Linked DNA regions of Homo sapiens: regions 2, 3, 4, 5, 6 and 7 are each linked to region 1. Evidence: promoter capture Hi-C in 16 types of primary human blood cells and fetal thymus (Javierre and others, 2016). All regions are on one chromosome and are shown on one strand. The core of a region is centred on a gene start or on the middle of the fragment in contact, and the rest is flanking DNA. Distances in the headings are between cores, read along the strand shown. Region 1 holds the start of HSPA13 (heat shock protein family A (Hsp70) member 13). Region 2 overlaps USP25 (ubiquitin specific peptidase 25). Region 3 has its middle 60 kb from the start of USP25. Region 4 overlaps LOC105369302 (a long non-coding RNA gene). Region 5 overlaps LOC105369302 (a long non-coding RNA gene). Region 6 overlaps LOC105369302 (a long non-coding RNA gene). Region 7 overlaps LOC105369302 (a long non-coding RNA gene).

Region 1 (3,069 bases), core at 227-2,726:
TATAGGACTGCTGATAGCACTCCTCTCAGACAGCAAGTTTTTCAAAATGTAAACTGGTTATAATAAAATTTAAAATGAAGTAAACACAAACAACAAAAAACCCTATAACTGTATGTTTGTGTCATTCTCTAATAAATGTAATAAAATGTAAAAATATTTCAATAATATTTGTGCAGATGCTGACAAGAAACAACATTTATCTGGAGCAAAAGCCAGATATAATCTAATATTCTTGATCAATTGATATTTAGATTTTACAGCTTTATAAAAAGCTTCGATTATCTTTTTTTAAAAGCTCCATTATTAAAATTCTCACAAGAAAAACTTTATTATTTTATAAGTCTAAAATTCTCTCCTCGTATCTCACCTCCTTTTCCCTTTCAAAAGGATGAAATGAATAAATGGGATAAAATGATTTTGAAAGTTCCTTAGATATGAAACTGTCACTTCAAAACAGAACACAGTTAACTTTTTATGTATTTAAGTATGAACTAGGGACTTCCTTCTTGCAGTGGTAATATTTAGGGGAGAAGAAGCATAAAGGTGGGCAACCCTGACGGCAACATCTATGAAAGCTTCTTGAAGACAAGTTTCGTTCACTGTTGTATCCCCCAGACCAGGAATAGCAGATGCCCAACAAATACTAATTTAAAAAAAAAAGAAAAAAGAGTAGGAACAAATGCCACGCAGATTGTAAACATAAGCGAAGAAAGATGCCCCTTTAGTTTTTAATGAATCTCGTATTTGGTATCAGGAGGCTGTGTTATACACCTGTGTCCGCTCATATTACATATGACCCAAAACATGAATTTTCAGGGCTCTGTGTTACTAATTGTTAGCTCATCCTCATCAACACATAACTCAAAGAAATAAAACCAAGTGCGAATCCCACTTTCCACTTCCAGCTACAGGCAACATTTCAGAAGCATTTCATCACCTTGGAGACGCGGGGTGGGTGTGTGTGTGGGTGGGGGATAGGTAATTCCAAACCCGATGTGATGGAAAAAGCCTCCAAATTCAGCATCCCTGAGCCGACAGATCCGGATGTAGCTCCTCCCCCTTCCTCCACAAAGGGGTCCTGGAGGTGCACGTTCTCGCAGCCTTCCATAGCTTGCCCCAATTCAACAGGCAATTCAAAAACCTAGGTGCTGTTGAAAGGAACGCCTCCCTAAGCCTGATGTCCCTGGGATGGACACAGCTGGTCGCCGTCTATCCTACCTTGGCCTGCAGGGGCCGGGGCCCTCCTAGAGGCGTCCCCGCCCCCATCCACTCCGAACAGCCGAAAACCGTCTCTAAGTCACCTTTCTGACTCCCCTTCCGCTGCTCCAGCTAGATCCAGGAGGTGAGTCAACCACCCCTGCCCACTCTGGCATCCTCAGATCGCCTCTACGCCCGCAAGAGCAACAAGGACCCCCGGGAACCCACCTAAGATCGTCATCTCTCTGGCCATCACAGTCCCGCCGAACAGGCTTGTGATGACTGTACCAGACGTGAGGCACCGCCCCCACTCCTCCCGGCAGTCCCGCAGCCCCCTGGGAAATGTAGTCCGCTTGCTCTGAGGCAATCGGAGAAGCTATCGCTCTGACCAAAGCAAGGACTTCATCTACCGTGAGGGCGCGGGGCAAAGAGCCTCCATTCAACCGCTGCCAGTGACGACTGAGTCCCCCTTCCACGCAACGGCCGGCAGGACCAGTGAGACTGAGGGGGAGGAGCGCCGTGGCGAGAGACTGGCGTTTATAATCAAACCTGTGGTCCCGCGATCCTACTTGAGGGAAAACAGGCTATCTCTTTAGCCCCGCCCCGCGCTTTGCATTCTGGGAAGCGGAGTTCCAGCCTTTCTCTTTCCGCGGGAGGGAATGAAAGGGAGGGTGAGAACCGTTAGTTATTTCTTTCTTTGGTCGTGCCCCTAATCAGGTCCAGGATTCGAGTTTGTGTTCTTTCGTTTTAATTCCTTTTAAAGCGCGTTCGTTTGCCTGAGATCTAGCTTCTAGATGGCGTTCCTATAGCCTCCCGGAGCCCCAGCCATCCTCCGTAGAAGGGTCCCTGCCGCAGTGCGGGGCCTGAGGGAAGTCGGCTCTGGCGTCCGTGCTCCAACGCTGGGAGCAGCCCTGAAACTCCAGTGACCCTCAGCCGTCTGCCTTTGTTTTGGGATAAATGAATTCAAGCATTCTTCAGTCAATTCGATTTATCCAAGGGATCAGGGACACATTTTCTCTATTGCTAGCACTGACGTGGGCCATTAAAAACAAAAACAAAAACGAAATTAAAAAGAAAACCCTTAGCTCTCTCTTCAAGTAAGTCTTAAGTGGCCAAAATTGACCTTATGGGCAAGTCCTGTAACGTGACAGCCATTTTAGGACGCTTGTGACATGCTGTTCAGGTTCTAGTCTGAAGTAGGATTTTTCTCGCATCTTGGTCACTGGTAGCACTTAATGACTCCTCTGAGAGTGGTTTTGTCATTTTTGCTGTTAGAGTTCACGATAACTAAGATCCTGGAGAATTGAATCCATTTTCTCAGCTTAGATATAAATCAAACCATCCCTGTTGACAACACGTCAGCCTGCTGTGGGAATACATTGCTGGTTATTTCTGACTTATCAATGTGAATTTTGATTATGGAAGCTGAATTCTGGTTGATAGGGATCCATTGTAATGTTCTCTCTACTTTTGCGCATTTTTAAGTATTTCATAATGCGAAATATAAAAAGTGTGTGTCTATAGTGAGTGCTGTTCAATAAGATTCTTATAAGGAGTGAAGAATTCAAGCACTTAGTTCTTAAGTATTACTTGTAATGGGCAGTGGGCTGGAGGTGTTCCAGGCAGACGGAACTCAATTACCAAGAGCACAGAAGCAAGAGATCATCTATTCCATAGATTAGAAAGTGGTGGATCATAAAGCATGAGGTAGAATTCTGAGAGACAGAACTAGAGACTTAAACCAGATTAAGATTAGCCGTCTGTGACAAGCACTGGTCATTGGGATTCTCCCTGCCACTCACTCCTTTCTCCTTGCTAACAAGATCCTGATTTGTTCAAGAAGCAGGTAAAGATTATGTGATCTCAGAGTAG
Region 2 (3,069 bases), core at 299-2,798, 1.4 Mb after region 1:
TTTTATTAGGTCGTGTTTAATATCTCTTGTATGGTTTATAATTTAACACAAAACTATTGTACATCTTTTGTTTCAGGTAGTTGATAATTTCTGATAACTGTTATATGGCAGTGCTTTTAAAAATTTGTTATTGGTGTATGCAAATGCAGTGGTCTTTTGTATGTTAATTTTATACCTAGCCACCTTGCTAAATGTTTCTAATACCTTTTCCAGAGACAATTTTGTACTTTCTGTGTAAAAGATCATATCATTAAGGGAGGAGACCACGCCTCATATTGTCTTATGCCCAATTTCTGCCCTCAAAGAAAGAAAAAGTAAAAACTAAAAGGCAGAAATGAAATCCACAAGCAGACAGCCCAGGGCCACACCCTGGGCCTGGTAGTTAAAGATCGACCCCTGACCTAATCAGTTATGTTATCTATAGATTACAGACATTGCACAGACACTGTGAAAATCCCGATACTGTTTTGTTCAGATCTAATTACCGGTGCATGCAGCCCCCAGTCACATACCCCCTGCTTGCTCATTTGATCATGACCCTCTCACACGCACCCTCTTAGAGTTGTGAGCCCTTAAAAGGGACAGGAATTGCTCACCCCGGGAGCTCGGCTCTTGAGACAGGAGTCTTGCTGATGCCCCCAGCCGAATAAACCCCTTCCTCCTTTAACTCGGTTCTGAGGAGTTTTGTCTGCGGCTCGTCCTGCTACATCATGATTAAAAAGTTTTATGTATAATTTCAGTTTTTGTGCCTGTACTTTCATTTTTTTTCCTGTACTAGCAAATACTTCCAATAAATATTGATTAGAAGTGATAACAATGAGTATTTTTTTGTTCTTGCTGATCTAAAAAGGCAGTTACCTACTTTTGTACCTCATGCATTTCTGAAATATTTACATGTGTTAGTTGTGCAGATTTACAAAGTAGGTTCTGTTTAACTAAAAGATATTGTAGTATTTTCAGTCGTGATGCTTGCAGGTATTTTTTCTTTGGGTACTGGTGACCTTTGTTTAAGCTTTCACCCTAGGTATCCTGGGTGTGGTGGTGGAGGGGTGCTGGTAGTTTGTCAGTCTCTTCTCTGTCATCCTAGGAACTGTGAAGTCAGGCAGGGCACTTTTTTTTTGTATTAGTGGCCCTCACTAATTTCCTTCTCCAGGGGCCACTCCACAATTGATTTCTGCCCTGATGTGCTTAGAGTAAGGTGTCTACAGGGTCTTTCTTCCCCTGACACTGGCATAATTTTACTCTCTAATGTCATAGAATTGCTTTAAGCACTGACCTGCAGCAGTGGCCTGCCTTTTTCCTACAATATAATCACTGATTTTTGTTATGTTTGAAGGACCAAATTTGGCTTGTGAAAGTGAGTTTAGGAATGTCACTATATAATGTGAGCAAGTAGATGATGTGAAAGTTGAATTTATAAAAGGATGAGGCCTTGCATTTATTTTGGCAGACTTTAATTAATTTCCAAGGACATCATCCTTGTCATGACATCTTGTTTTATGTATGTAGTAAGTAATTTTTCAGTTTTTCTCTTTTTTGCCCCTTGATTAACTCTGCTTCAGTACAGACCATCTGCTTTATTTTTAGTTTTTGGTTCTCTGAACTGCTGGATATTTTAAATGCCCAGCAATATTTTCCTTAGTCTTGTTACTATAGGTTTAGATCAGTTTCGTATAATATGGTTTTTATGGACTGTCTTAATTATCTGTAGTGCTTGCTAAAAGTGCAGACTTCTGTGCCTCACCCTAGACGTATTGTTTCAAGATGTTGAGGGTTGGGCTAAAGCCTGCTTAATAAGAATCGCAGATTATTCTTCTGCACTTAATGTTTGAGGATCACTGGTTGAAGTTAATTAGTATTCTTAAAGGTAAAAGTGCCTTGAGCACTGTGTAAATTGACTGCAGGGGTCCTTTAGGGATTGAATTATCACAATACACCAAATTTAATATGGAAGCAGGGTCTTTGAACGGACATTGTTTTTTTTTGTTTCAGGTGTTTCTCTCCATCAGTGCAGCAACATGTTTCCTTGTAGAGGAGCTGTCTCCTCCCTCAGGCTTTTCTGGCCAACATCTCTATGGAAACCCAAAGCTTCAGGTGGCTAGGTGGGATACTTGCCCCTCTTACTCCTGGAGGCACAAATAAGTTGAATCGATGGATTAAGGAGTTGGAAAGTGATTGTACATGCTAAAGTTGTAATCTTCCTGTTTCTTTCTGGCTGTTTTTTTTTTTTTTTTTTTTTTTTTTTTTTTTTGGTATGTGCGTGTGTATTTGTGTATGAATAATTCCTATAGGATTTTTTTGTGGGGGCTAACCATAGCATATGAAAACTTATGTACAACTTAAATATATTAAGATTAGTATTCTTTGTACAATTTTAGACATGAAATAGAATATCTTATTGTCCTGGAAATTTCCTTTGTTCCTCATTCATACTGTCCCTCTTTTCTACACCACCCCCCACCCCCACACTACTGCTATCTTGACTTTTTTCAAGTTAATGTTATCGTGGTATGATTTACACTGAAAGTGTGTAATTTGATGAATTTGGCCATACAGAACATTTCTGTCACTCCACAAAATTTGTCCTGTATCACCTTTCTCATTAATTATCAACACCGTCATTATTTCAGGCAACTGTTGATCTGATTTTTATTACTGTAGATCAGTTTTGGCTGTTCTGGGTCTTCACATCGATTTGTTTATACCAAATTTTTTTTTTTTCTCGCATCTGACTGCTTTTGCTCAGCAAAAAGCTTTTGAGATTCACCCATGTTTTATTGCATGTATCAATATGTTTCTTTTTACTATGGAGTAATATTATATAAATATTCTCACATCTGTGTATTCATGTACCTTTTGATGTACTTTTTTTTTTTTTTCCAGTTTTTTGACCCATATATAATGTTATGTGTACATTTGTAAGCAGGTCTTTGAGACGTATTTCTATTTCTCTTGGGCAAATACATAGGTGTAGAATTGTTATAGTACTAAATTGTTATCCAAATTGATTGTATCATTGTACATTCTCATTAGCAATATAGGAGAATTTCAGGTGGTCTACATTTTTGC
Region 3 (3,069 bases), core at 236-2,735, 1.3 Mb after region 1:
TTGTTCCTTATGTGGTCATAATTAAGAGATGTCAGTATTAAGGGACCCAGACACAGGGATGTTCATGTGAATTTGAATCAGGTAATGGGCATAGGCAGATGTATACTAAATAAAGAATTTAATTTTGGTTAACAGTCACTAAGTACATCTTCCTTAACTTTTCCCTCATTTTTTTCTCATTTATTTAAATTGTCCTATCTTAAAAACCCAAAGTGGCAGCTGGGTGCAGTGGCTCACGCCTGTAATCCCAGCACTTTGGGAGACTGAGGCGGGTGGATCACCTGAGGTCAGGAGTTCAAGACCAGCCTGACCAACACTGAGAAACCTTGTCTCTACTAAAAACACAAAATTAGCTGGGCGTAGTAGCGCATGCCTGTAATCCCAGCTACTCGGGAGGCTGAGGCAGGAGAATCGCTTGAACCCGGGAGGCGGAGGTTGTGTTGTGCCGAGATCATGCCATTGCCATTGCATTCCAGCCTGGGCAACAAGAGCGAAACTCCATCTCAAAAAAAAAAAAAACAAAAAAACACCAAAGTGGCTAGTGGGATATGATCAGGGAGTGGTGAGATGGGAGAAGAGAGTGGATTTTGACAGGTTTTTGTGGATTATGAGAAGTGGTAGAAGAATTGAAGCTTCTGCTGTCCCTGTCAGACCAAAGGAGTAGGAGGAGTTCCTGCTGTGAACTGAGAAGCTGGTGATGTTATCTCAAACGCAGCCAAGCTCTTTCCAAAGTAAGAATCAGTAACTGTTTATATAAAGGGCAGGATTGCCCAACTGCAATCTGTTTGTGAGATGGGTGTTAAAATGCTTTGGGGCACCTCCCACTACTCCTGATTATAGGGAATTAGGTTAGCATTGTTGAGGGTAAGGGTTTGAGGACGGTGCTTGACACCTACCTCCCCACACCTTTCAGAGGTGTATATCAGTAATACAGAGGAACTGTCAAAAATACAAGAAATCAACTAAATCAATTACGATCCTGAAGTTGCATTGTTATGTGCTTACTAACAGTGAGAACATTTTGTTGGAAAAAATAGTATAAAGTATACTAACCTAAAAATGCTATTAACACTTTGATCCAGAGATGATACAAAAATATTTTACAACTGGTATGGCATAAACAATGACCTATTAAAATGAGCACAGACCAGACTGTTGGGAAAAGGGCTCTAGAGGTCTGCTGATACAGGGAAGGGGCTGAGATGAACAAGGTGTTAACATGTACTTCACTCTTTAACAACTGGCACAGACGAAACCTTGTGTATACTACCCGAATATTAGCCCTGCCTTTTCCTAATTTGTGTATACTACCTGAATATTAACCCTGTGGATGATATTACCAATCCCACCACTCTTGGTCTCTAACAGCCTGATGTTCTGCCTAATATTGAAAAGGACTTGCTTATTCACAATGGCACATGACTTTGCATCTCTTGCTGTATACGTTTTTTTTTTATTTATTTATTTTTTGTTTTTCTTTTTGAGATGGAGTCTCGCCCTGTCACCCAGGCTGGAGTGCAGTGGCACAATCTTGGCTCACTACAACCTCCGCCTCCTGGGTTCAAGTGGTTCTCGTGCCTCAGCTACCAAGTAGCTGGGATTACAGGCGCATGCCACCACGCCTGGCTAAGTTTTGTACTTTTAGTAGAGACGGGGTTTTGCCATGTGCCCAGGCTGGTCTCGAACTCCTGACCTCAGGTGATCTGCCCACCTCGGCCTCCCAAAGTTCTGGGATTGCAGGCATGAGCCACCATGCCCGGTCTTGCATATATATTTTACTGCACTTCAATCATTTAGCATTTTAACATTGACTTGTTATGGTTTCTTTACCAGAAATTTTGATTCATATGAAAATAATGTCAAAACAAATTCTGTTGTTTTTCACAAAAATTCTGAGTTTGGCTGCCATATTAATCAAGGGTAATAATGTGTGAAATAGTGGAATATTTCATTGAATGTTCGGTCAGCATACAGCTACTGCCACTATAAATTTAGATAATAATAAAATCTCATGTCGACTGTGTATCAAAATTTATCAGTAAACGGCAAATGGTTAAAACAGCCATGAGTTTTTAAAGAGTATTGGTATTAAAATTTGCGATTCTTAGGATGTTTTATATATGTCTTATTCTACATATGTCAAACGGTTAGATATGCCTTCTTAAGTTCAGCTGGGTATGGTTTTTATGTGATTACTTCAGCTAATCTACTGTTGAATGTAGTGATTGTGGTAAAATCATACCTAAGAATTTATCAACAAATAGCGGCAAGTAACAAGTAGGTAAATAACTATAGGAATTATGTTTATATGCCAATGCTTAGTAAATCTTTTTGAAGTTAAGCTTTGAATTTTACACATTGCTGTATTAAACAACTCCAACTATTTTGACTTTAAAAAGTGCAAAAAATTGTTTATAAGAAATTAATGCCTTCCTAAATATTTTTATATGATTGAAATTGTAAAGGGTAAAAGTATAAGTAATGCAGAATTATTTCTGAGAACTCTAAGAAGAAATCTAAATACAATAGTAATAAGAAAACAAATGGTCTAAGAGCCAAGACAAAACTCTGTCACATCTAAAATGGAAATAGTACTCTGAAATAAGAAAGAGTAACTAGAAATGGAAAGCCCCAGTTGCAGTCAGCCGAGATCACAGCCACAACTACCCAATAAGAAGAAATGTAACATGGGAAGGATGTTTCTAATATCGGTACTTAGGTCAGCTATAATGCCTGGCTTGCAAATCACAGAAAGTACAACTCAAAGTAGCTTAAAAATGAGAGTATTGTATTGGCTTATATAACTGCAAAACCCAAAGTTAGGCCTTGTTTGAACGGTGCTTGAGCTACCTGTGCAAGCATATCACCAAGGATACAGTTTCTTTGTCTTTCCAGAATGTTTTCTGCAGAGCTGGTTTCATTCTAAAGATGACTTTTTGTAATATCATGATGACTACAAACATCTCTGGAACACACACTTCCCAGAATACATTTGCACCATAGAGGAGAGTGTATGTGTCTTAGCATTCTCAGCAAATGTCTCAAAATTAATTATCTTTGCATGGGCTA
Region 4 (3,069 bases), core at 235-2,734, 1.2 Mb after region 1:
TTCCAAGGAAGGAATAAGTTTCCAATGGTTATTTGTAACATTCCATGTAAATATCTGAATGCATCTAACATACATGTAGAGTAGTATTTTTAATATTGCCTTTGCATTTTGTTTAAAACCAAATGGATAGTAGCCACTTATAACCCATTTATTATGTATAGCTGTTTTAATACTTTCCAGGAGGTTATGTTCTTTTGACCCTCTGAGGTTTCTTCCCATAGTTTCACCCTACTTTTGCTTTCATTCTAATCCTTAAAAGAGCATGAAAGCTTATTCTTTTCCTCCCTGAGTAAATAAAACCAATATAGTTATGTCATCTTGTGGCCCTTTGTGTATTTTAGGCCAATTTTTTTTTCCTTTCATGAAAGCAACTATTGACACAAAACTATTTAAACAACTATTATTTACATCTATAGGAAAAAATACTACTGATTTTTATAAAACAGTTGCCAGAGAATTATGATTAAGGGCAATTTACGAAAGGCATGAGTGTTACGGCCATTGCTCAGGGCAACAACTAGTTGGGAAGAAACAAAAATAATTTGTTACAAAAGAAAAGTGAGTTAGTAATGGAAAAGTCTAGAAGATAAGTGTTTGATGAGTATATGAAGACTAATTTTGACATTTTCATTCTCAGCTTCTTGTAAGTAGGAGAAAAGAGTTCAGTTTTAGACAATCAAATGGAAAATTCTAAAAGGTACATTTAAGAATTTCTTAATCTTTTCTCATAATCTAATCAGACTGACTATATCACAAATAGTTGTCATGGAAAAGAAAAAAGTGTAGGCAGCTAAGGGAAGGAGATAGAGGAAACAAAAAAAGAACAGTTGATAAAATATCCAAAATTGCATAATACATTAAACTTATAATTTTTCAAATGTCTTTATATAGTCACTTGGAGATGATGATTAACTGTATTAGTTTCTTCAAAACACACTTGGGAAGGTTTTAACGAAGTTATATAAGTACCAGTGTTCACAGTATGGCAGGAGAATTTTATCTTAGCAACTGGTATTAGTGATCTAAAAATGTTTCGCCCTTCTATGAGCACCCTAAAATCTGTTCTTACACACACCCTCCAGATTTTTTCCAACTTAAATTAGCAAGTCTTTGACTCTTTTTATGTATATGACATCAACCAAACTTGCAAGTTTTTAATTTGTAGTTTATTCCCTTTGCTATACTGACACCAAACTCTAGTGACAGGTGTGGACAAAGTAGGGATAAGAGAGACGTGTGGGTAATGGACTGTTTCTTTAAGGAAATCACTATGGTGAGGCGGCAACAAAATAATCCTCAAGCAATGGAGAAAGAACTCTCAGACAAGAAAAAGAAATCTGCTTTTGAAGGTAGGAGATGCTTCATGGAAGGTGGGCGAAAACCACCTATAGATCTGATTTCTGGTTCTTGAATTTAGATATTTGGGTTTAAAATTCCCTCCCTTTACACCATCTAATTCTACTAGAGTCATGCCACCATACAGGTCTTCCATTTTTGCTACCATACTTTGGTGGCAACAATGCTGTCTCCCAAACTTTGTTCCCAAGGGCACACAGGATGACATAATTAGCAGTACACAGGATGACTTAATTAGCAGTTTTCACAACTCTTTGTCATGGATTACTGAATTCCAAAACCAAAATATTAGGGAACTTCAACTAGATGCATTCAGACCAGACAACCAATCCCATTTTCTCCATATTTTCCCAGGGATATTTAGTTTGTGTCTATCTGCTTTGCTTTCTGTATCAATTAAGAGGTTGTTTTGCAATAAGTAACAGAAACATACTGTGGATAGCTTAAATACGTATACTTTAAGGATATCAAGAGCTCACTATATTAATAGAAGGCTTGTCTGAAGCAGCATCTCTTAGCATCTCATCTGGCCCAGATGTGGGCACTGCTGTTGAGAATGAATTGCTATCGTTCTTGTATGCACCACGAAGTAAAGATTCCAAACCATGTGTGGAAAATCCAGTTGAGAGAACTAAATCATCGTAACTGCTTGGCCGCCAGGCTGTTCCTTATCCTCTTTGCCCTTTGCAGTGGGAAATAAGATACTGCCTTCCAAAAGGAATCATCACGGTGGGAAATTACCTGCAAATAGGACACCACGCCAGCTCAAAATACAAGTGGGTACTGAGGTTCCTTATCCTTAGATGTTGCTATCCTTATACTCAGCATAATCTTCACCATTGACTAAAATGCCCTCTAATGTAGATAACTTGTATTTGCCTCTTAGAGAACTCTGAACTGCTGCCACCTTGAACATGTCTTGGCTTCTTTTTTCCCCCTAGTAAGGATCAAAAGCAAGTTTTTTTTCATTGTAATTGTTCAGTCATCGTCAATCTATTAACTTGTGTTGATTTGCAAGGCGGCAGCCAAATGACTGTCACAATAACAAAAGCCAAGTCTCCTTTGATTGTAGAATCATCAATAATATTTATTCACTTGTCTCTGGCATGAGACAATTACTTTTCTGCTCCAGAAAGGCCGTTTTAATTGAACTTGTATTTCCTGCTTCCCAGGCATTTTGAGTAGGAAGAGGGCAGACCTCCTCACCATCTAATGCAATTGTTTTGCATCATCTTAATTTGAGTGGAGGCTGACATTCCTGAATTCCTGACTACATGCCAAGCTGTGGGGTGTGGCAAACAGCTCAGTTGTTTTAATTCCAGAAACTGAGTGATGACATTTTGCTAAGCTTCTGTCATATACGCCCTCATGAAGGGTGGGAAAATTTTGAACTCTGGGCTTCAGTTTATGTGTTATGTTTAGTAAGTGTGTAAGTAACTAAAGCACCTTTGTTTACTTGGTTTTGACATTTGGAGAATGAGGTTTTCTCACCACAAGATAGAATACCAAGTGAATCTTGTTCTTCACACGTTCCTGATAAAGATGAAGAAACAAATGATTGAGAAGTTAAATGATAATTAAAAAAATGTGGTAAATACCAAATGAATAGTGTAGGCAGAAAAGGGAATAAGAAAGAACTTTGGTGACGGTCATGGCAGCGGGAATGGTGGGCTATCCCTTTACCCCAAGTTCTGCATCACAGAGAACAGGTTT
Region 5 (3,069 bases), core at 202-2,701, 1.2 Mb after region 1:
TTGCAAATCACACATTGTAGTATAATTAATATATAAATGTTATAGATTAAATATTCCATATCAGACAAACAATTAACATCAAGACGAAAAGGATTAGGAAAATGGGGTCAAATGAACCAGTGCAAGGAGAGTGACATGGACAAGGAGAGTGTCCTGGCCTGATCCTGATGGATGTCAATGACTTCCACTGAAGAGTCTTTTATTTGGGCAGAGCCTTCAGCCTCAGATGCCAGGTGCTAATCACAAGTGACAGCATAACCGTGTCTATCAAGATGGCCGTCTTGAGCTGGTGAAGTCTTGCTATTCTTATGGCCCCGGAGTCTTCTGGTGAGGACTGAATTGATAGTAAAGAGTGTGCCTGGTTATGTCCTTATCTGATTGATTGCTGTCTCTATTGATTAGGCGAACATCTGATCGCTGTTGGTATGATGCCTGTTGGTATGATGCATTCTGAAACATAAGATGAGTCTTTTTCTAAGATGGAGTTACAGATGTCAAGGGTGCTCTATAAACAGCACCATTCAGTCCTTCAACACTTTTCACAGGTATATCTATAACCTACCAATAGACCTTATTGCTAACAATCTCCTCCCCTGTCCAATCCATACCTCAGCCTGAAAGTTCTTTCTAGAATACTGATTAATCATGCCATTTGTCTGCTTTTTGGAGAAAGTTAGAACTTCTGAGAATGGATTTCAAAGCTTTTGAGCCCAACCTGATTTTCCAATCTCACCTCAGTTTATCACTCCCTGCCTACCATACCAAACTCCGCCCATCTCAGAAAGTATAGGAACTTTTGAAGAAGTGTTTCTGATGGAATAGTCTAAACAGTATGCACATTTTGCCAGGCCGTGTGTGTGGTACCACTGTAAATTTTATAATGACACTAGATTTTCCAACCATTTGTTTTTCATCCAAGTATTTCTGATCGTTTTAGTAATAGCAAATTTTTTCACAGTAATTTGTTTTATAAGCATCAGGTAGGATCAGATCTCCCTCATGCAAACACATTATCATCTCTTTAACTTGTGCGGCCCTCACTCCATCCTCCACCCTTTTTCCTTTCAGGAGAAACTTACTTTGTGGTTTCACTCTTATTTTATTTGTTTAAAATGTCCCATCCTGTTAAGCAAAGGATTATTTCTCCAAATGACCTGTATCTTTTCATATTTTTCTCTTTTTTTTGCTCATGATGTTATCTCTACTTGAAAATTCCTTGATATTTGTCTTCAGTGAGCTAAATCCTACAGACATTCAATGCTTACCCCAGACATTACTCCCTCTTCAAAGGTTTCCCTCTTGATATTCCTAACACATCACCTCACATGTGAGTAGAAAGTTGAATTTATTAGGTTGGTGCCAACGTTTGCACCAACCTAATACTTAATCTCCTCATTACTACCACTAACAGAGTCTCAAAAAAGGAAGACATACCTATAACAAAAGTCTAGAAGCAAAAGTTTTGGAGTTAAATGACCTGCTTTTGCCTGGGCACAGTGGCTCACACCTGTAATCCCAGCACTTTGGGAGGCTGAGGCGGGCAGATCATGAGGTCAGGAGATTGAGACCATCCTGGCTAACATAGTGAAACCCCATCTCTTCTAAAAATACAAAAAATTAGCCGGGCATGGTGGCAGGCGCCTGTAGTCCCAGCTACTCGGGAGGCTGAGGCAGGAGAATGGCATGTACCCTGGAGGCAGAGCTTGCAGTGAGCCGAGATCGTGCCACTGCACTCCAGCCTGGGCAACACAGCAAGACTCCGTCTCAAAAAAAAAAAAAAAAAAAAAAAAAAAAGATCTGCTTTTGTTCCCAGTTTACAAATCACTCAAATTTCAATCTACTCTCTTTCTCTTTTGTATTCCCATTGCTCTTTGTAAATACTCTCTTGAAACATTTAACACACTCCTTTTCTCTCACCATACATAAAATCAGGTGGTATGTGTTAATTCATTTCTGACTTTTTCAGGCCTTAATAATCATTAAAAACAATTAAAGAAGATAAGAAGGAAGGAAGGAATGAAGGAAAGAAGGAAGGAAGGAAGGAACGAAGGAAATCATTCTATTCAGATTTCTAATAGCCTGTCTATCTAAACTTGGAGTTGAGGTAATGTATGATCCAAGAGGAAAAAGAAGCAACACGGATAGCTTAAGCGAAAATTAAATTCCTGTAAAGGGTGAAAGTTTACACTTTCTTTTTAGGTGGAAGCTTGATTAGACCACTAGAAAAAAAAAAGAGTTAAATTACTTCTTTCTCTTCCAATAGTCTTGTTTATTACATTGCAGCAAACGTTTGTATATGGAATTGCTTTTTAAAAGCAGGAAATCTGCTTCTCTGTGAACACTGGTTTGTAGCTCCTTTTTCATTTTCTTGACTAACAACTCAGTTCTATAAATTGTTTCAGTAGTTCAATAAACAAGTGCTAAATTGTGAGCTCCCTAAGGATAATGACTGTGTCTTATTCAGTAATGTTTACCAGGAGCCTCACTAATACCAGGAAGGCAAGTTTGCCTACATTTACTCGAGAATATATTGTTGTTAATTCTCTAAAGACCAGTGGAGTACATGTTCTCTCAATGTCTATCCACATGGCAAAACTGTGTGAAGAATAACAACCAGACAGACCTCAAATTTGCTCATTTGATGATTTATCTTGTTTGATGAAAGGCACGATAGCCTAAGAAAACTCTCTTTTCTCAGATACTATTTGCCTCAGATCAATAGTATGCAGAAAATACCATCACAGGACAAAAGAAAATTGTCTTGACTGCAACTAGAGCACAAAGGGGAAAAAGATGTAACAATCTAAATTTCAAGAAAGAAGTCTCAGTTAAAAGCATTGCTCTCAGAAGTCTTTTCTGGTGCCTCTGCAGATGATCCTATTAGATGCTAGCAATTGCTAAGATTGAAATACTCCAAGGTGAGAGAGAATGCTTCGGAAACACAGACTAGATGGCCTATGATTCGTTAACTTTATTAAACAGCACTGTATTTCCTGAACAAACAAAAGAGTACACTGGTATGTTCCTGAACTTTTAAAGTTTTGCATTTGATGGAGTTCAGGACACACT
Region 6 (3,069 bases), core at 199-2,698, 1.2 Mb after region 1:
AAATCTCCCATATTCAGGGTGCTTTTGTATAACAGCTGAGCTGGTTCAAGTGTCCCAGAGAGAATGGGACTGAACACTGTTCATGCTCATTATCGTTTATCTAAAAACTAAAGTTATTGGTTACAGAGCGTTGTTTAGATACTATGGCAATAAATCATTTTTGTGAGCTGCTGTGATGAAACATATATTGTCCTTCAATATAAGCAATCAACAGCAACGGTGTTTCTTGTTCTACTTCAAACTGTTGGTCCCTGGAAAATCTACAGAACAAAATCTCTTAATGTCACAGTATATTATGTGTTTCAGAAACTCTACATGAAATCATTCATGTACATTCATTCTACGTGAATTCTACATTCATTCTACATGAATGAATAAAATGGCAATCAGTAAATGGAAGAGATAAATAGACAATGAAGAAACAAAATTGGCTAATTCACAAGCCAGGTAATCTCTGAGGAATACCAGAGTATGCCACCCTAAAATATGCCTCTTTGGATTATGGATTATTTTGAGCTAAAAGCCATTAAAAACCAGCAGCAGGAAAAGCTCTAAAAATAAAGCACAGATTTTCCTTTTACTGGGGAAGTCTCCATTTATAGAGGTGTCTCCCTCATACCAGGAAGAGGAGGACTCTTAACAACTCTTAACTCTTATCAATGGAGAAAGCACCAATTTAAATCTGCAAACAAATCTTAATAAACAACCCTTGTTTGCCATTCTTTTCTCTTGTCACCTTCCCATAACTTGCCTCCTTCCACCCACAACATGAAACCCTTTTTCTTTAGTCTAAGATGGTATATAATCCTAAATTCTAACCACCCCCGTAGGTCACTCATCTCTGGGTACTCGCGTGTGTAAGCACAACACATGTGTTAATGATATAGGAGTTAAAAAGAAATTATTTAGGCAGATAGTGAGGCTAAGGAAGGTTTTCCTTTTAATAAAAAGCAGCCCCCAAATCATTTTCTTTTCTAACAAAGAGCAGCCTGTAAAATCAAGCTGCAGACATACATATGCAAGCTGGAAGCTTGCATGGGTGAATGTTAGCAGTTGTGTCAGTAGGAAAAGGCTACCTATGACTAGGCATAATCAAAATGGCGGCTCCATCTTCCCTTCACTTTGCCAGCCACATGTACAGTAAGAAGCAGACAAGATGACGCTGGCCAAGTGGAAAGTCCATTTGCATAATAAGATTAGGGTGGTGCAACCAGCCTTCCCTGGCCCCACCCCTCGCTATGTAAACGTCACACCTGGTAGAACCAATCTGTGGCCCTATGTAAATCAGACACTGCCTCCTCATGCCTGCCTATAAAATCTGCTGTGATCTGCTGCAGGCTGGCTTTTCCCTTTCAGACACCTCACTTCAGATAGCTGCTGTCCTCTCTTCTTTCTTCTGCCTATTAAACTTTTTGCTCCTTAACCCACCCACATGTGTCCATGTTCTTAATCTTCTTAGTGCAAAATGATGAACCCCGGGTATTTACCCCAGACAAGGATGCCACTTCACTAATAAACTATTGTTTGTTTTTCTCTTGTTAATCTGTTTTTGGACAGTCTAATTTATAGAGCCCCAGCTGAAGAATCTAAGATGGATAGAGAAAACGATTTTTTCCTCACCTACATCTGTAATTATATTAGTTTGAGGGTAAATATGAAGCAATAATGATCACTACTTGGTAATCTCCTTTACCAATCCTCTGTAATTTGGTAAATTATAAAGCAAAGTTATAGCCAATTCTCATGATTCAGGCTTCTTTTTATAGCATTATGTCTAATATATCTGATTCATGTCTATTGTTTTAGTAATAACATGCCAACCTCATGGAAACCAAAAAGTATCTCAGACAGCTCTCAATCAATTTAGAAAGCTTATTTTGCCAAGGTTAAGGATGCACGCCTGAAAGGCAGGTCTGTGCCTTTCTCCAAAGATGGTTTTGAGGGCTTCAATGTTTAAAGGTGAAAGAGTGGGTATTTGGGAAAGAGAAAGAAATTTTCAAAAGGTGTGGGTAGACAAATGGTTGCATTCTTTTGAATCTTTGATCAGCCTTTCACTGAATACACAATTTACATGTCGGTGGTGTGGAGGAATAGACACTTATGCTGTCATCTGGCTCACTGAATCAGCATTTTTACATCAGAGGAAACAATCAGATATGTGTTTGTCTCAAGTGATCAGAGGGATGACTTAGAGTTCTGTCCTTTGTCCTGCACCTGTAAAGATAAGCTGTCTATTTCACTGTCAGAGTAAAATTCAACAGAACTGTCATAGGGTGAAGATCTTGAAGTCCACAAGGAATTTCCTAGTGGGCAAATTGTGAGGGAGGTATATACTTTGTATTTTTGTAGCTATCTTATTTAGGAATAAAATGGGAGGTAGGTTTGCCTGATGTGATTCCCAGCTTGACTTTTCTGTTTGGCTTAGTGATTTGGGGGTCCCGTATTTTCCTTTCACACTCACAGTAAAATTTTAATACCCTCAAAATCTGCAGGACAAAACTCACACATAAAGCTCCTTGAGAAGTTACTAGAGGTTAAATGGGTCCGAAGGGCTCTTTCCATTCTAGGAGAAGGATCATGATACTATGATAAGGTCACTAATATCAGCATCATTTATTTATTTAACAAATAATATTGAGTACCTGTGGTGGATTTATATCATGTCAACTTAGCTAAGGTGTAACCACAGTTTTCAGACTTCCCTTCACTGCATAATTCCAAGTTAGTATGGGCCACAAATGACATTTGCAAAAACTGAGAAGTAGAAGTGAAACAGCAGCCTTAAAAAATAAAACTAATAGTTGGAAGATTTGCTCAGGTCCACTAGGCACCACTGCAACTCATGTACGTTGCGCCCATCTGCTGGCTTGCCTTGAAGATGTAGGAGCCAAAGGGAAATGACCTATTTGCACTTTGAAGTTTCACTGAAAATCAACTGACAAAGGCAAAACAATAGCAGAGAAGGCTTGCACAATTTTATTTTAACATGCATAGCACAGGTGATTCTCAGGAGAATGATTACCCAATAACCCAATGAGGTACAGAAGCTTATATCCTTTTTCACAGGGG
Region 7 (3,069 bases), core at 415-2,914, 1.2 Mb after region 1:
CTAGAAAGTCGAGGCAAAATCTCTCTTCCAGGTAGGTCTTAGAATAGATTGCATAGAACACATTCCTTGTTCTAGCAACAAAATGCTGCAATATATGTGCTGGGATTTTGCCCAGGATAGCCCACTTGAGATTTAGAGTTCAAGGTTTTTACTGGGGGACAGGTCACATCAGAACTTTCTCCCGGTGTAGCCAGGAATGATTATCAAAGTTCTAGACTCCTAGGAGGAAAGCAGGTATTTACCATCAATCACACTGTTTGCACAGTATAGGCAAGGAGGACTCAGTGCCTGAGGCATACAAGACAGCCGGATTCTTTAGTAACAAAAGGAAAATTCCAAAGTCAAGTTTTCAGACACCAGCCAAGGATTAGCAAGCCCTTCGAAGAGGAACATCAGACCTGCTACAAGACTCTTTCCTATACCATAGGGGAGGCACTTCCTTTCCTTAGCTGCAGTTCAATCTAGCTGGATTTTTTTCCCCCAAAATGTGTAGAAATGGCCTAACTAAATCCTCCTCAAAGAAACTGATCACCAGCCAACCAGCTTCATCTACTGAAATGTCAGTTTCACCTCCACAAGTTTCTTCAACAAAGCTTTTGAATTTTAGTGATTCTAACTTCTTCTCTTTGTTCACTAAGGCTAGGAGTGGTCACTGCTGCCTGCGATTGCTATTTCCACAACTTAATGGTTTTTTATATTTTTTTCCTCTTCTGAGTTACATTAACAACCACTTACTTTTAAAATATTTGTATGGAATCACGTGTGTTAAAGTAATTTCTGTGGTTGTTCTGGATGCTGACTAATAAAAGAGCAGAGGCATCTTCCTTTGGCAAAAGTTACTAACAAATAAGAACTAGTAACATATGTTCATTCATTATTCTCTGTTTTGGGTACTATATTTGTGGTATGAGGCAACTGTGACAGTGGCAGCAAATTTGCTTATATGACCTATGATGACACCTGAGGTAGGTGACTGTGAAATGAAATTTCAGCATCACCCCTTATCCCCAAAATGCTCTCCTCCAGCTCTTCCAATGACCTTTCAAGTGCCTGTTATATTCTTCCCTCCTTGTAACATCTAGAGTGATTTTTGTTTCCTGAACTGAATTCTAATAGATATATAGGCGATTTATCAAAAGAGTGCAGTAAACAACATACTCAGTAGTGAAATTTTAAAATTATTCCCCATAAAATCAGGTGTGAGATAAGTATGCTCCTTCTCACCATTTCTATACAACATTGCATTGGAAGCAATAGAGCTGAAGAAGTAAGTGGAAAATGGTAGGGAAGAAAACAAAATTGTCATTATTTGCAATTGATAAGATAATCTACATAAAACCCCCAAACATAGCTTTATGGAAAATTAGTATGTATCACAGACATAAATACATTCGATGCTGCACTGTGTCTACTTTTGTAAGACAGGAAGAATATATCTGAAATGTTTAGTAACCTTTTTTCAAAAGCAGATGAAATTACATCCAAAATCATCAATAACTGAAGAAGTCTAATAGGGCTTACTTCTAGAGGATTCCAGGTGAATGGATACAACCTTGAGCTAATTGCACAAAAGAAATTGTGTCTATAAGCAGGTCAATTAGCTTGTTTCACTAGAACACAGTTAAAAAGGTAGTTCTCCAATCACTTTGATTTTCAGAAGAGCTATGAGCTTGATTCTTAATGATTATTTAACATAGTTGAGCTTTAATGGTTAACTTGAAATTTTAAAACCATAAAACTTTATAGAAAATGAATATCAAAAGTAAAGAAGCTGTTAAGACCACAGTCACTGTACATAGGAATTTTATCTCACTGCTGTAAATCGTGAAATCCTGCCCTCAACCATAGTGTACGAACATGGCCATTTCAAAGATGCACCTCTGTGACATTTCCCTGGATTTCTCCACGTAGGAATTTCAGCGGTTATTCTCTGCAGGTAATTGCAGCTTCCAGAATAACCCCAGGTCACTGAAACACCTTGGCTCTACAAACAACCCATTATTAGGCAGATTACATCAAGAAAATCCATCCTGCTACTGCTGTGGAGATGTGAATTTATGACATTGAAGAAAAAAAACATGCAAAGAGGTTTCTGGAGTCTCTCTGTGGTGAAGGCAATGCTCTATGGACACATTTTATTCAATCACACTTAATGAATGAGCCTCACTCCTTGGTTTTCTTCATCCTCTCTGTCTCGTAGAATCCTTCTAGGGAGATATATATATATATATATATAGTAGCTGTGAATTAACATTTGTTCTCTAAAAACACAAAACTTGGTTTCTACTATCATACACTTAATACAAAACTCCCACAGTTCGTCTACGACCATTGTCTCCATCAGGGTCAGGTGAGAGGATGGAAAACATACGAGATTTTGAACAGGGAGAATGTAATGTAAATAATTGTCAACCAGGTATGAAGTTGTGAACTAGGAACTGAAAAGATAAAAAGAGGACGCTAATGTATCATGGAGGCAGCAAATGTAGGAAGCAGATACCATCCTTATGGTTAAAAAAACTAAGGGACATGATTGGATTTATTAAAATTTAGAAACTTAGAGGAGGGGTCTTGCATAACTGAAACTCAGGGCTTTGAGGAGGGCTACTGGTTCAGTTGCTCAACAGATTCTGGTGTCTTTGAGCTTGGAAGAGCGGTCCCAAGGGGCTGAGACCCAGACTGTAGAAAACAGGATACTGTTAGCAGATGCTGGTGATTGTTAACTGTGACACAGTGAAGCTTGTTTCACAAGTGTTTAAAAAACTGTTAACTGAATTCAGCTACTGCATACAGAATTACTACTCCTGCCTGGGTGAAGAAGCGCTGCCAAAATGATGCTTACAGGAACTGCAAACGGACAGGAAGTCAACAAGGAGTAAATAAGAAAGACCAGGTTCCTTCTTTCTCCTCCAGTCCTAGTCTCCGTCTTGTGCCCCCTTTTGGCAGAGCATAACAGGAAATCAGGGGGCAAAGCAGAAATAAGGTTTGCAGAGTTCCAGCTTCAGGATCATGAAGCAATTATAGAAATGTGGTTTGAGCTGAGAGACAATAGCTGAGTAAGTGGCACAA

Evidence for each region. Contacts are between HindIII fragments. The CHiCAGO score rates a contact against its expected background, and 5 or more counts as called.
Region 2: a fragment that was not itself captured here is called in contact with the fragment with the promoter of HSPA13 in region 1 in 4 of 17 cell types (naive CD8 T cells, non-activated CD4 T cells, total B cells and 1 more); the score reaches 7.6 in naive CD8 T cells.
Region 3: a contact is called between a fragment that was not itself captured here and the fragment with the promoter of HSPA13 in region 1, in 2 of 17 cell types (M2 macrophages and M1 macrophages). The highest score is 6.6, in M2 macrophages.
Region 4: a contact is called between a fragment that was not itself captured here and the fragment with the promoter of HSPA13 in region 1, in 5 of 17 cell types (M2 macrophages, endothelial precursors, M1 macrophages and 2 more). The highest score is 7.4, in M2 macrophages.
Region 5: a fragment that was not itself captured here is called in contact with the fragment with the promoter of HSPA13 in region 1 in 9 of 17 cell types (M0 macrophages, M2 macrophages, naive B cells and 6 more); the score reaches 10.9 in M0 macrophages.
Region 6: a contact is called between a fragment that was not itself captured here and the fragment with the promoter of HSPA13 in region 1, in 4 of 17 cell types (fetal thymus, total CD8 T cells, M2 macrophages and 1 more). The highest score is 6.8, in fetal thymus.
Region 7: a contact is called between a fragment that was not itself captured here and the fragment with the promoter of HSPA13 in region 1, in 2 of 17 cell types (total B cells and fetal thymus). The highest score is 6.0, in total B cells.

Annotation. Positions count from the first base shown.
Region 1 is chr21:14,381,670-14,384,738 of GRCh38, forward strand. It overlaps HSPA13 (heat shock protein family A (Hsp70) member 13), which reads right to left and starts at 1,477. Exons shown (of 5, transcript NM_006948.5): 1 at 1,426-1,477. The coding sequence starts at 1,450. It overlaps LOC105369304 (a long non-coding RNA gene), which reads left to right and starts at 1,097. Exons shown (of 2, transcript XR_007067924.1): 1 at 1,097-3,069. RefSeq lists enhancers at 1,184-1,493, 1,884-2,013. The HindIII fragment of the contact is 7,322 bases long and covers 574-3,069 here.
Region 2 is chr21:15,738,424-15,741,492 of GRCh38, forward strand. The region is part of intron 1 of USP25 (ubiquitin specific peptidase 25); the gene reads left to right. Among named protein-coding and RNA genes, the nearest start is that of USP25, 10 kb to the left of the region's middle. The HindIII fragment of the contact is 1,076 bases long and covers 1,011-2,086 here.
Region 3 is chr21:15,668,713-15,671,781 of GRCh38, forward strand. No RefSeq gene overlaps it. Among named protein-coding and RNA genes, the nearest start is that of USP25, 60 kb to the right of the region's middle. The HindIII fragment of the contact is 1,710 bases long and covers 631-2,340 here.
Region 4 is chr21:15,601,985-15,605,053 of GRCh38, forward strand. All of the region lies in intron 1 of LOC105369302 (a long non-coding RNA gene), which reads right to left. Among named protein-coding and RNA genes, the nearest start is that of USP25, 130 kb to the right of the region's middle. The HindIII fragment of the contact is 2,435 bases long and covers 268-2,702 here.
Region 5 is chr21:15,583,975-15,587,043 of GRCh38, forward strand. All of the region lies in intron 1 of LOC105369302 (a long non-coding RNA gene), which reads right to left. Among named protein-coding and RNA genes, the nearest start is that of USP25, 140 kb to the right of the region's middle. The HindIII fragment of the contact is 1,505 bases long and covers 700-2,204 here.
Region 6 is chr21:15,556,950-15,560,018 of GRCh38, forward strand. All of the region lies in intron 2 of LOC105369302 (a long non-coding RNA gene), which reads right to left. Among named protein-coding and RNA genes, the nearest start is that of USP25, 170 kb to the right of the region's middle. The HindIII fragment of the contact is 841 bases long and covers 1,029-1,869 here.
Region 7 is chr21:15,531,880-15,534,948 of GRCh38, forward strand. All of the region lies in intron 2 of LOC105369302 (a long non-coding RNA gene), which reads right to left. Among named protein-coding and RNA genes, the nearest start is that of USP25, 200 kb to the right of the region's middle. The HindIII fragment of the contact is 2,146 bases long and covers 592-2,737 here.